Regions from separate parts of the Homo sapiens genome. Here region 2 is linked to region 1. The links are contacts of gene promoters, found by promoter capture Hi-C in human tissues and cell types (Jung and others, 2019). All regions are on one chromosome and are shown on one strand. The core of a region is centred on a gene start or on the middle of the fragment in contact, and the rest is flanking DNA. Distances in the headings are between cores, read along the strand shown.

Evidence for each region. Contacts are between HindIII fragments. The study calls those that stand out against the background at their distance.
Region 2: a fragment that was not itself captured here is called in contact with the fragment with the promoter of ACVR1C in region 1 in 2 of the 25 tissues and cell types used here (hippocampus and spleen).

What each region holds. Positions count from the first base shown.
Region 1 is chr2:157,626,155-157,632,053 of GRCh38, reverse strand. It overlaps ACVR1C (activin A receptor type 1C), which reads left to right and starts at 3,190. Exons shown (of 9, transcript NM_145259.3): 1 at 3,190-3,482. The coding sequence starts at 3,410. RefSeq lists a silencer at 3,246-3,475. The HindIII fragment of the contact is 14,203 bases long and covers 1,900-5,899 here.
Region 2 is chr2:157,979,090-157,984,922 of GRCh38, reverse strand. No RefSeq gene overlaps it. Among named protein-coding and RNA genes, the nearest start is that of ACVR1, 110 kb to the right of the region's middle. The HindIII fragment of the contact is 5,954 bases long and covers 1,507-5,833 here.

The sequences.
Region 1 (5,899 bases), core at 1,941-4,440:
TAAGGTGGCGGGGGGGATGTTAAATCTTGAAAAAACACATTTGCATGTAAATTCTTTCCAGTGAAATAAAAGAATCTTGCATGTAAATCTTTTTCTGTTATGTGCAAAAATATGAAAGAAAGACGTGTTATATCACATCTTGAATAATGCATTTCTATTGTTTATATTCAATGACATGAACAACTAAATATGGTCCAAAGAGTATTTTTTATTAATGGTTCATTTCAAAAGACATTGGATTAAGACCGGATTAATTTCCATGGACGTGTGTGTGTGTGTGTAAATAAAGTATAATTGGGACACATTATAAGGACTAAGATCTTTTCTTGGTTGCCATGAGTGTGGCATTAAGAACTCAAGCATATAACGAATATTTATAATTTCCTAAGAGTACACTTTACTAGCTATTAGGATTCAATACACTGAGAGTAGTTAACATCTTACTGCAAAGCTTTCATAGTACTGATATTGGAACATGCACAAGAGGGTGGGGAAAATGGTATTTAAAGACCTAGTTTAAAATATTCCTACAAATAAAGTACTTAGATTTTTGATGTACTAACCTTTCTTGATGTTTTACAGAACTTTGAACCAATAATTTAAAAGATCCTGATTCCTTTATTGGCTGGCCATATACTGACTGACAAGATACCTAACTACTCTTTTTTTTTTCTATATATATACTGTTCTTAAGACAAGGTAAGGATCCTTGCCATCTGTTAAGGATTCTTTAGACCAGTACTGTCCAGTAGAGTTGTAATGTGGGCCACCTGTGTAATTTAAAATTTTCTGGTAGTCACACTAAAAAGTAAACAGAAATAGGTAATATTGATTTAATAATATATTTTATTCAACTCTATGTCCAAAATACTATCATTGCAACATTTAAGCAAGATAAAATTATTAGTAATGTATTTTTTACATTCTTATTGTTGTACTAAATCTTTGGATCTAGCATGTATTTTTTATTTACATCATATGTCGATTCAGTCTAGGCACATTTCAGGGGCTCAATATTCACATGTGGCTAGTGGCTACCGTGTTGATAACGCACCATTAGACTAAGAGGAAAGCATTGAGTTTGTGTAGAATATTGGAGTTATTCAATATTTGACTTCTTGGAATAATAAGCTTTTTTTTTTTTTTTTTTTGGAGACGGAGTCTTGCTCTGTCGCCCAGGCTGGAGTGCAGTGGCGCCATTTCGGCTCACTGCAAGCTCTGCCTCCTGGGTTCACGTCATTCTCCTGCCTCAGCCTCCCGAGTAGCTGGGACTACAGGCACCCGCCACCACACCTGGCTAATTTTTTGTATTTTTAGTAGAGACGGTGTTTCACCATATTAGCCAGGATGGTCTCGATCTCCTGACCTCGTGATCCGCCCGTCTCGGCCTCCCAAGGTGCTGGGATTACAGGCGTGAGCCACCGCGACCGGCCTTTTTTTTTTTTTTTTTTTTTTTTTTGCAAATGAGAGCTTTACAACTTGCAGAGGATGTTGCTTTAGAGACAAAATAAGTATGTGGGGAGTAAATCCCTGCCATTGTTGTAATGTGTATGGTTTAACAATGCTCTCTCATACACTACCCTTTTTGATCCTGGTCAAAGTTCTGGGAAATAGGGAGGAATTAAGTTCCATTTACTTTTGAGGAAGCAGACCCAGAAAGTTCATTACATTCTGCTATTTAGGCTCCCGGTATCATGATCTATTGGCAGATCACAATTTAAGGTGCAGTTATCAAATAATTAGCAAGCCAAACCAGACAAAATATAATGTGTCCTAGCAGTTTCTTGCCTTTTTAAAAAAGCATCTGTTTTGTGGGTGTCTGAAAGGGCTCAGATTTGTCCCACATCTCCAGTTTTTTGTTTGTTTGGATCCAGGATAAAACAAGAACAAAGTTTTTTTGTGCTTAGGAATATAAGATGGTGGCAGAAAAGATCCTCAGGATGCCACCCACATCTCAAAGTCCAACAACCATCTCATCTCCCATACTGTGATCCTTTGATAATAAAGTCAATTACATACAACATTTCACCATAGGTCTTTCATAGAACTTAGAACACCTAGCATATAATTTAGTCCTGAGCTAGGTGAAGAAGCAAGAAATGTTTTACTCTAAAGCAATTTTTATGACGCTATCACTTTTCAAGGAACCCCCAACAGTAGTAATAACACCAGTATTGTATTCTTGCTTTTTCGCGTTGTTCAGATTGAAATAATCCCATTCACTTTAATGTTCAGGCTCCATAGGTGAATTGAATTTAATTTCTATAAATTGGTAATGTTGCCGTTGTCCTTATATTTTCAGGCACAATCCAGGCCTTATATTTTCAGGCACCCGTTTGACAGTTAGCCTCTAGGGATTAAACAATACTCAAACAAGTTTTTCATATACTACTTTAAACAATTCTTCCCCTTCCCTTAATCCGTGTGTGTGTGTGTGTGTGTGTGTGTGTGTGTGTGTGTGTGTGTATGTTCCCTTAGTTCTTCAATTGCTGAAGTTGTAGCTGCCGAAATTATCTTCCATAGGTGAGGTCTTTTACCACCAGACGTGGGTCACACATTGTAGATGGCCACATCACCTGGCGCAGGTGGTCCAGCTTTGGTCGCCATTCATAGAGGGAAGGGTTCCCAAAAGGCACCCAAGAAGAGATGAAGTTTGTTAAACCAAAGCTTATAGGTCCAGAAGGCAGTCGGACAACTGGTCATTTCCAGGGATGAACAGAGAGGGCGCCCTTCCCCAGAGGCACAAATGGCCAGGACGCAGGGGTGGGACAAGCCAGTAGGAAGCCCGCGGGGCTCTCACAGCGCAACCTGGTTGGACTTAAGGACCCTGGACAACAAACGTCAGGAGAGCTAGGAGGCTGGCTCTTCTGCGGGAGGTTATAGAGCGGATCACCTGGGCGCAATCGCCGCGTAGTTGAAGTTTCCCTAAAGTCTCAGTGGGGCTTTTCCTCCCGTGAGAAGCCCCATTCCTGAGTATCTAGTCCCGGAGGCTCCGCACTGCTTCCCCACGCCCCCTCTTTCTTCGCCCCAGCTCTGGGCGATCTCACTGCCGGGCACAGGGCCGCCTTTGCCTGCCTGCCCTGCAGCAGCAGGCCCGGGCGGCTGCGAGAGGGCGCAGGGGGCGGAGGCGCGGCAGGGGCGGGCTCTGCCGCCCGCCCCACCACCCGCTCCCCGCCCGGCTGCGGGGCCAGTGGCAGGAGCGCCGCGCACCGCCAGCCGCAGGGGGCGTGGGATGGGGGCGGCCGGGGAGGGGGGCGCCCACACTGACTAGAGCCAACCGCGCACTTCAAAAGGGTGTCGGTGCCGCGCTCCCCTCCCGCGGCCCGGGAACTTCAAAGCGGGCCGTGCTGCCCCGGCTGCCTCGCTCTGCTCTGGGGCCTCGCAGCCCCGGCGCGGCCGCCTGGTGGCGATGACCCGGGCGCTCTGCTCAGCGCTCCGCCAGGCTCTCCTGCTGCTCGCAGCGGCCGCCGAGCTCTCGCCAGGTACGGTGCTGGTTTCTCTCCCGACGCCCGCGAGGGTGGGAGCTGGGAGGAGGTCTGCGGGTGAGCACGGGGGTGGGGGACAGGGGGTGCTCCGAGCAAACTGACCTTCGGGGCGGACAGGGAAGCGCCAGTCGGATTGAGGGGGCGCGGGATAGGGTGCAGCGTGGGCACCTGACGTCTGGCAGCCGTAGGGGTAGACAGGTGTGTTGGGGACGAAGCCGCCCGGAAGAGGGAAAAGGCAGCAGGGACGTGGGGGAATAAGTAGTAGGGGTGAGGTGGGTGACTAATTTGTGGGCAGTTTGCAGCGGAGAAAATAGGAGAGCGTTTGTGGGTGCGCGCATGGCTGGGAGCTGGGTTCACCCTGCAGGGACCTGGAGGGCTGCAGGTATGCGTCGGACGCGCTCTGTGCTAAGCCCCTGAGAGCTGCTCAAGGATGGTGGCATGGTGGTGGTGGGAGGTGGTGATTTAGTCTGAGTTTTAGGAGGCGGGGAATACCCCAAAAGCCGCAGATGCCAAGCTATGGAGGCGAGAGTGGGAGCTTAAATCTGTGTGGTTTGCAACGCACATTGCTTTCGAGGTACGATCTTTACTCAGAGTTCCTGGGGAAAAAAATTCTGGCAAGCGCCCCAGAGTTTATAACAGGTCTGTGCCTTGATAGGCTAAATAGAGCCCTCTACCCAATCTAGAAGCCAGACGTTTCTTTATAATGTTTACTAGAAAGTGGGGCAAATGCATCTTTGGTAAAATCATAATATGCTGTGACTAAAAGCCCTTTACCTCGAAAACTATTTTCATTACATTGTCCTGGATTATGCAGAGGAGGAGCAGATTCTTTGCTAACTCATTCTTTAAAAATTTCTATCAGACATTGAAGACATTTGCACATAAAAATCTGGTGTTTTCCCATAGAGCTGTGTTTTGTCCGAAGCTGATTTTGATGCATTTTGTTTTCCCAGATGACAATCTGTTTGACATTAATAGCTATATTCATGGTGGGTCGTTTTCCTCTTAGTGACATGTGCAAGAGAATGATTTGAATGATATGATTGCTGTCATGTACAGATTTCAGTGTTTCAGATGGCCTGAGAGAATCACTAAATACAATATTCAAATATAAATTTGATTATTGAAAAGGATTAATTGACAAAATCTGAGGATTAAAACATTCCAGTTATCTTTTAGGAAAACAGCCCAAGACTGTCGGAAAGATGATGGGATAAAGTGAAATATTTGCATTTAGAGTTAATAAATTTATAAGTGGGAGAAAACCAACTATGGGAAAGTCTTTAAAAAATGGGTGAAAACTCTGCTAACTTGGGATACTGAAAGTGCTCTTGACAATTTAATAGAGTTTACAAAAAAAAGTCTTCAAGGTATCACAGTTTTGATGGGGTGAAACTGCCTCTGGAGGCTGTCTGTACAACTCTTTTTATTTGGAGGAGCTGATAACTTGGCTGCACACATTTCTACAAAACAGATTCAATTTTTTTAAAATGTAGCTTCAAGGGTATATTTTGTTGTATACCCAGAATCTTTAGAAAATTTCAGAGACCTTGAGCATAGCAACATGCCTCATGTTCTTGAAAAGGCATGGAAACTTTTGACATTGAAATATGCAAAAAATAAAAAAAAGATAATCCATTCAAAGTCGCTCACTTAAAATTTGAAGTCTAAGAAAAATGCATGATATGGAATAATATAGTAGAGATGTATTTATTGAAGCTGAACTTTTATGAAAAACTTTTCTATGTCAAGTGCAATCATTTTCAAATCTCCTTAAGAAGTTTTTACCCCTCTGTGTCCCACGTTAACAATGTATATTGCTACTTATAGTATTTATTCTTAACTTTATATAAAACTCTGGCTATTTAGTAGAAAGATTCAAGGTAGTTTTGTTTTGCTTTTCACTTTTTCAATTGGTTTTATGACATGGTTAGCCAACTGTATTTTTACCTGGTCACTTTTACAAATTATACTGTTAATCATATTGGCCATTTATGACATGTACTTGCTGTTGTTGGAATGTTATATGAGAAGTTGTTCTTGATGTAATGACATAGTCAGTGAAACTGTGTGACAGAAGGCACCACCTTTCATCTGGATCTGCAGAGCAGGCCTACGACTTTAAATATCTGAACACATGATAAACCAGTAAACCTTTTTTACTTTGGCTGCTCATTCCCCACATTGTTGTCACCTTAGGGGTGTCCATTGCTCCTTTTTGAGAATCTCAGAAGATAACAGCTGGTAGAGACTTAGAAAAACTGTTTATTGGTCTGGACTGGAATTAAAAAAATCAGGCTGGCTGGGTGCAGTGGCTCACGCCTCTAATCCCAGTACTTTGGGAGGCCGAGGTGTGAGGATTGCTTGAGGCCAGCAAGTTCAAGACCAGCTCAGGCAACATAGTGAGACACCAT
Region 2 (5,833 bases), core at 3,234-5,733, 350 kb before region 1:
GAACACTAGGTAGAGTTCTAAGGTTTTTTACTCTAGTTCTTGGTGCCTGGATGGCCCCCCGACCCACACAAGACCTGGGGGAATTTGCTGCCCTGAAGAGAAGGACATAGGCCTGGCTGGTTTTGCCAGCTAATGATTGTAGAGCCCTAGAGCATTGAGTGAACATAAGTGGTAGCCAGGGAGTGGTTACAGCAGGCCTTGGGCCAGACCCAGTGCTGTTCTCGCTTTAGGTCTGACCCAGCACAGTCCTAAGGGTGGTAGCCACAGGGGTGCTTGTGTCACTCCATCCCCAGCTCCAGGTGGCTCAGAACAGAGAAAGAGAGACTCTCTTTGTTTGGGAGAACGTAAAGGAAGAGAAGATGAGTCTCTGCCTAGTAATACAGAGAATTCTTCCAGATCTTGTCCAAGAACATCAAGGTAGTACCTCTATGAGTCTGCAAGACCCAGAGCATTGCTGCCTCCTAAAGCAGATACAGCTTAGATCACAAAACCCTAGTCCTTTCAAATAGCTGGAAAGCCTCCCCAAGAAAGATGGGTATGAACAAGCCCAGACTGTGAAGACTACAGTAAATACCTAACTCTTCAATACCCAGACTCAGAAGATCTACAAGTATTAAGATGATCCAGGAAAACATGATCTCACCAAAAGAAGCGAATAAGGCACGTGGGACCAATCCTGGAGAAACAGAGATATGTGACTGTTCAGACAGAATTCCAAATAGCTATAATGAAGAAACTCAGAGAAATTCAAGATAACACAGAGAAGGAATTCAGAATTCTATCAGATAAATCTAACAAAGAGATTGAAATAATTAAAAAGAATAAATAGAAATAATGGAATGAAAAATGCAATTGACATACTGAAGAATGCATCAGAGTCTTTTAATACAGAATTGATCAAGCAGAATAAAGAATTAGTGAGGCTGAAGGTAGGCTATTTGAAAATACATAGTCAGAAGAGACAAAAGAAAAAAGAATAAAAAACAATGAAGCATACCTACGGAATCTAGAAAATAGCTTCAAAAGGGAAAAGCTGAGAGTTATTGGTCTGAAAGAGGAGGTAAAGAAAGAGATAGGGATAGAAAATTTAGTCAAAGGGATAATAACAGAACTTTCCAAACCTAGAAAGATATCAATATCCAAGTATAAGAAAGTTATAGAACACCAAGCAGATTTAATCCAAAGAAGACTACCTCAAGGCATTTAATAATCAAACTCCCAAAGGTCAAAGATGAAGAAAGGATCCTAAAAGCAGCAAGAGAAAAGAAACAAATAACGTACAATGAAGCTCTAGTACATCTGACAGGAGACTTTTCAGTGTAAAACCTTACAGGCTAGAAGAGAGTGGCATGACATATTTAAAGTGCTGAAGAGAACAAATTCTTACCCTAGAATAGTATATCCCACAAAATTGCCCTTCAAACATGAAGGAGAAATAAAGACTTTCCCAGACAAAGAAAAGCCAAGTGATTTCATCAACACCAGACCTGTCCTACAAGAAATGCTAAAGGGAGTACTTCATTCAGAAAGAAAAGGATGTTAATGAGCAAGAAGAAATCATCTAAAGTACAAAACTCACTGGTGATAGTCAGTACACAGAAAAACACAGATTATTATAACACTGTAACTGTGGTGTGTAAACTACTTTTATCTTAAGTAGAAAGATAAACAGTGAACCAATCAAAAATAATAACTACAACGTTTTAAGACATAGTACAGTAAGATATAAATAGCAACAATAAAAAGTTAAAAAGCAGGGGGACGAAGTTAAGACATAGTGTATTAGTTTTCTTTTGGCTTGTTTGTTTATGCAAACAGTGTCAAGTTGTTATCAGTTTAAAATAATGGGTTATAAGATAGTATTTGCAAGCCTCATGGTAACCTCAAATTGAAAAACATACAGTAAGTACACAAAAAATAAAAAGCAAGAAATGAAATCATATCACCAGAGAAAATAATCTTCACTAAAAGGAAGACAAGAAAGAAAGGAGGAAGAGAAGACCACAAAACAACCTGAAAACAGATAACAAAATGGCAGGAATAAGTCCTTACTTATCAATAATAACACTGAATGTAAATGAATTAAACTCTCCAATTAAAAGAAATAGAGTAAATGAATGGATTAAAAATAAATAAATAAAACTAGGCCCATTAATCTGTTGCCTACAAGAAATGCACTTCACCTACAAACACAAACATTGAATGCAAATAAAGGGCTGGAAAAAATATATTTCACGCCAATGGAAACCAAATAAGAGCAAAAGTAGCTATACTTATATCAGACAAAATAGATTTCAAGACAAAAACTATAAGAGACAAAGAAGGTCAAGATATAATGATAAAGGCATGAAATCAGCAAGAGAATATAATAATTTGAAACATATGTGCACCCAACACTGGAGCACACAGAAATATAAAGCAAATATTATCAGAGCTAGAGAGAGAGAGAGAATCCAATACAATAGTAACTGGAGATTTCACCACCCCACTTTCAGCACTGAACAGATCTTCCAGAGAGAAAATCAACAAAGAAACATTGGGCCATGGCCCAAAGAAACATTGTACTATATACCAAATGGATCTAGTAGACATTTACAGAACATTTCATCCAATGGCTGCAGAATACACATTCTTTTCCTCAGTACATGGATTATTCTCAGAGATAAACTATGTGTTAGGTCACTATATGTTAGGTCACAAAACAAGTCTTAAAATATTCAAAATAATTGAAATAATATCAAGCATCCTCTCTGACCACAACAGAATCATACTAGAAATCAATAAAAAGGGCGGGGCGCGGTGGCTCACGCCTGTAATCCCAGCACTTTGGGAGGCCAACGCAGGTGGATCACGAGGTCAGGAGATCAAGACCATCCTGGCTAACACAGTGAAACCCCGTCTCTACTAAAAATAAAAAAAATTAGCCAGGCGTCGTGGCGGGCGCCTGTAGTCCCAGCTACTCTGGAGGCTGAGGCAGTAGAATGGCAAGAACCCGGGAGGCGGAGCTTGCAGTGAGCGGAGATCACGCCACTGCACTCCAGCCTGGGCAACAGAGCAAGACTCCATCTCAAAAGTAATAATAATAATAATAATAAGAAGAAGAATTTTGGAAACTATACAAATACTTGTTTAGTATTTGTATGTGCATTAGTCCATTTTCATGCTGCTGATAAAGACAGACCCAAGACTGGTCGATTTACAAAAGAAAGAAATTTAATGGGCCAGGCACAGTGGCTCATGCCTGTAATCCCAGCACTTTGGGAGGCCAAGGTGGGCGGTTCACAAGTTCAGGAGATCAAGACCATCCTGGTCAACATGGTGAAACTCTGTCTCTACTAAAAATACAAAAATTAGTTGGGTGTGGCAGCGCGTGCCTGTAATCCCAGCTACTCGGGAGGCTGAGAAAGGAGAATCTCTTGAACCCAGGAGGCGGAAGTTGCAGTGAGCTGAGATCATGCCACTGCACTCCAGCCTGGTGACAGAGCTAGACTCCATCTCAAAAAAAAAAACAAAGAAAAGGGTTTAATGGACTTACAGTTCCACATGGCTAGGGAGGCCTTGCAATCATAGTGGAGGGCAAGGAGGAGCAAGTCATGTCTTACATGGATGGCAGCAGGCAAAAAGAGAGAAGTTGTGTACAGAAACTCCCCCTTATAAAACCATCGGATCTCATGAGACTTATTCACTATCATGAGAACAGCATGGGAAATAACTGCCCCATGATTCAATTACCTCCCATGGGGTCCCTCTCACAACACATGGGAATTCAAGGTAAGATTTGGGTGGCAGCACAGCCAAACCATATCATTCCACCCCAGCCCCTCCCAAATCTCATGTCCTCACATTTCAAAACCAATCATGCCTTCCCTATAGTCCCCCAAAGTCTTAACTCATTTCAGCATTAACTCAAAAGTCCATAGTCTAAAGCCTCATCTGAGACAAGGCAAGGTCTTCCACCTATGAGCCTGTAAAATCAAAACAAGCTAGTTACTTCCTAGATACAGTAGGGTACAGGCATTGGGTAAATACACCTATTCCAAATGGAAGAAATTGGCCAACACTAAGGGGCTACAGGCCCCATGCAAGTCTGAAATCCAGCAGGGCAGTCAAATCTTAAAGTTTCAAAATGATCTCCTTTGAATCCATGTCTCTCATCCAGGTCATGCTGATGCAAGAGGTGGGTTTCCATGGTCTTGGGCAGCTCTGCTCCTGTGGCTTTGCAGGGTACAGCATCTCTCCCAGCTGCTTTCATGGGCTGGTGTTGATTGTCTGTGGGTTTTCCAGGTATATGGTGCAAGCTGTCAGTGGATCTACCATTCTGGAGTCTGGAGGATGGTGGCCCTTTTCTCACAGTTCCACTAGGTGGTGCCCAGGTAGGGACTCTGTGTGGGAGCTCTGAGCCCACATTTCCCTTCTGCACTGCCCTAGCAGAGGTTCTCCATGAGGGCCTCACCCCTTCAGCAAACTTCTTCACCCCTTCAGCAAACTTCTTCTAGGTTTCCTCTGAAACCTAGATGGAGGTTCCCAAAACCCAATTCTTGACTTCTGTGCACTCATAGACTCAATACCATGTGGAAGCTGCCAAGGCTTGAGGCTTGCACCCTCTGAAACCACGGCCCAATCTCTATTTCAGCCATGGCTGGAGTGGCTCGGATGCAGGGCACCAAGTCCCTAGACCGCACACAGCATGGGACCCTGGGCTTGGCCCACAAAACCATTTCTTCCTCCTAGGCCTCCAGGCCTGTAATGGAAGGGGCTGCTGCAAAAGTCTCTGAGATGCCCTGGAGACATTTTCCCCATTGTCTTGGGGATTAACATTGGGATCCTTGTTACTTACGCAAATTTCTGCAGGCATCTTGAATTTCTCCTTAGAAAATGAGTTTTTCTTTTCTATTGCATTGTCAGGCTGCAAATTTTCTGAACTTTTATGCTCTGTTTCCCATTTAAAACTGAATGCCTTTGACAGCACCCAAGTCACCTCTTGAATGCTTTGCTGCTTAGAAATTTCTTCTGCCAGATACCTTAAATCATCTCTCTCAAGTTCAAAGATCCACAAATCTCTAGGGCAGGGGCAAAATGCCACCAGTCTCTTTGCTAAAACATAACAAGAGTCACCTTTGCTCCAGTTCCAAACAAGTTTCTCATCTCCATCTAAGACCACCTCAGCCTAGATTTCATTGTTCATATCATTATCTGAATTTTGGACAAAGCCATTCAACAAGTCTCTAGGGAGTTCCAAACTTTTCCACATTTTCCTGTTTTCTTCTGAGCCCTCCAAATTTTTCCAACCTCTGTCTGTTACCCAGTTCCAAAGTTGCTTCCCCATTTTTGGGTATCATTTCAGCAGCACCTTACTCTACTGGTACCAATTTAATGTGTTAGTTCGTTTTCATGCTGCTGATAAAGACATACCCAAGACTGGCCAATTTACAAAAGAAAGAGATTTATTGGACTTACAGTTCCACGTGGATTGGGAGGCTTCACAATCATCATGGAAGGCAAGGAGGAGCAAGTCCCATCTTACACGGATGGCAGCAGGCAAACAGAGAAAGCTTGTGCAGGGAAACTCCCCCTTATAAAACCATCAGATCTCATGATACTTATTCACTATCATGAGAACAGCACAAGAAAGACCTGCCCCCATGATTCAATTACTTCCCATGGGGTCCCTCCCACAACATGTGGGAATTCAAGATGAGATTTGGGTGGGGACACAGCCAAACAAGATCAACGTGGAAATTAAACAATATGCTTCTGAATGACCAGTAGGTCAATGAAATAATTACAAAGGAAATTTAAAAATTTCTTGCAACACATGCTAATGGAAACACAA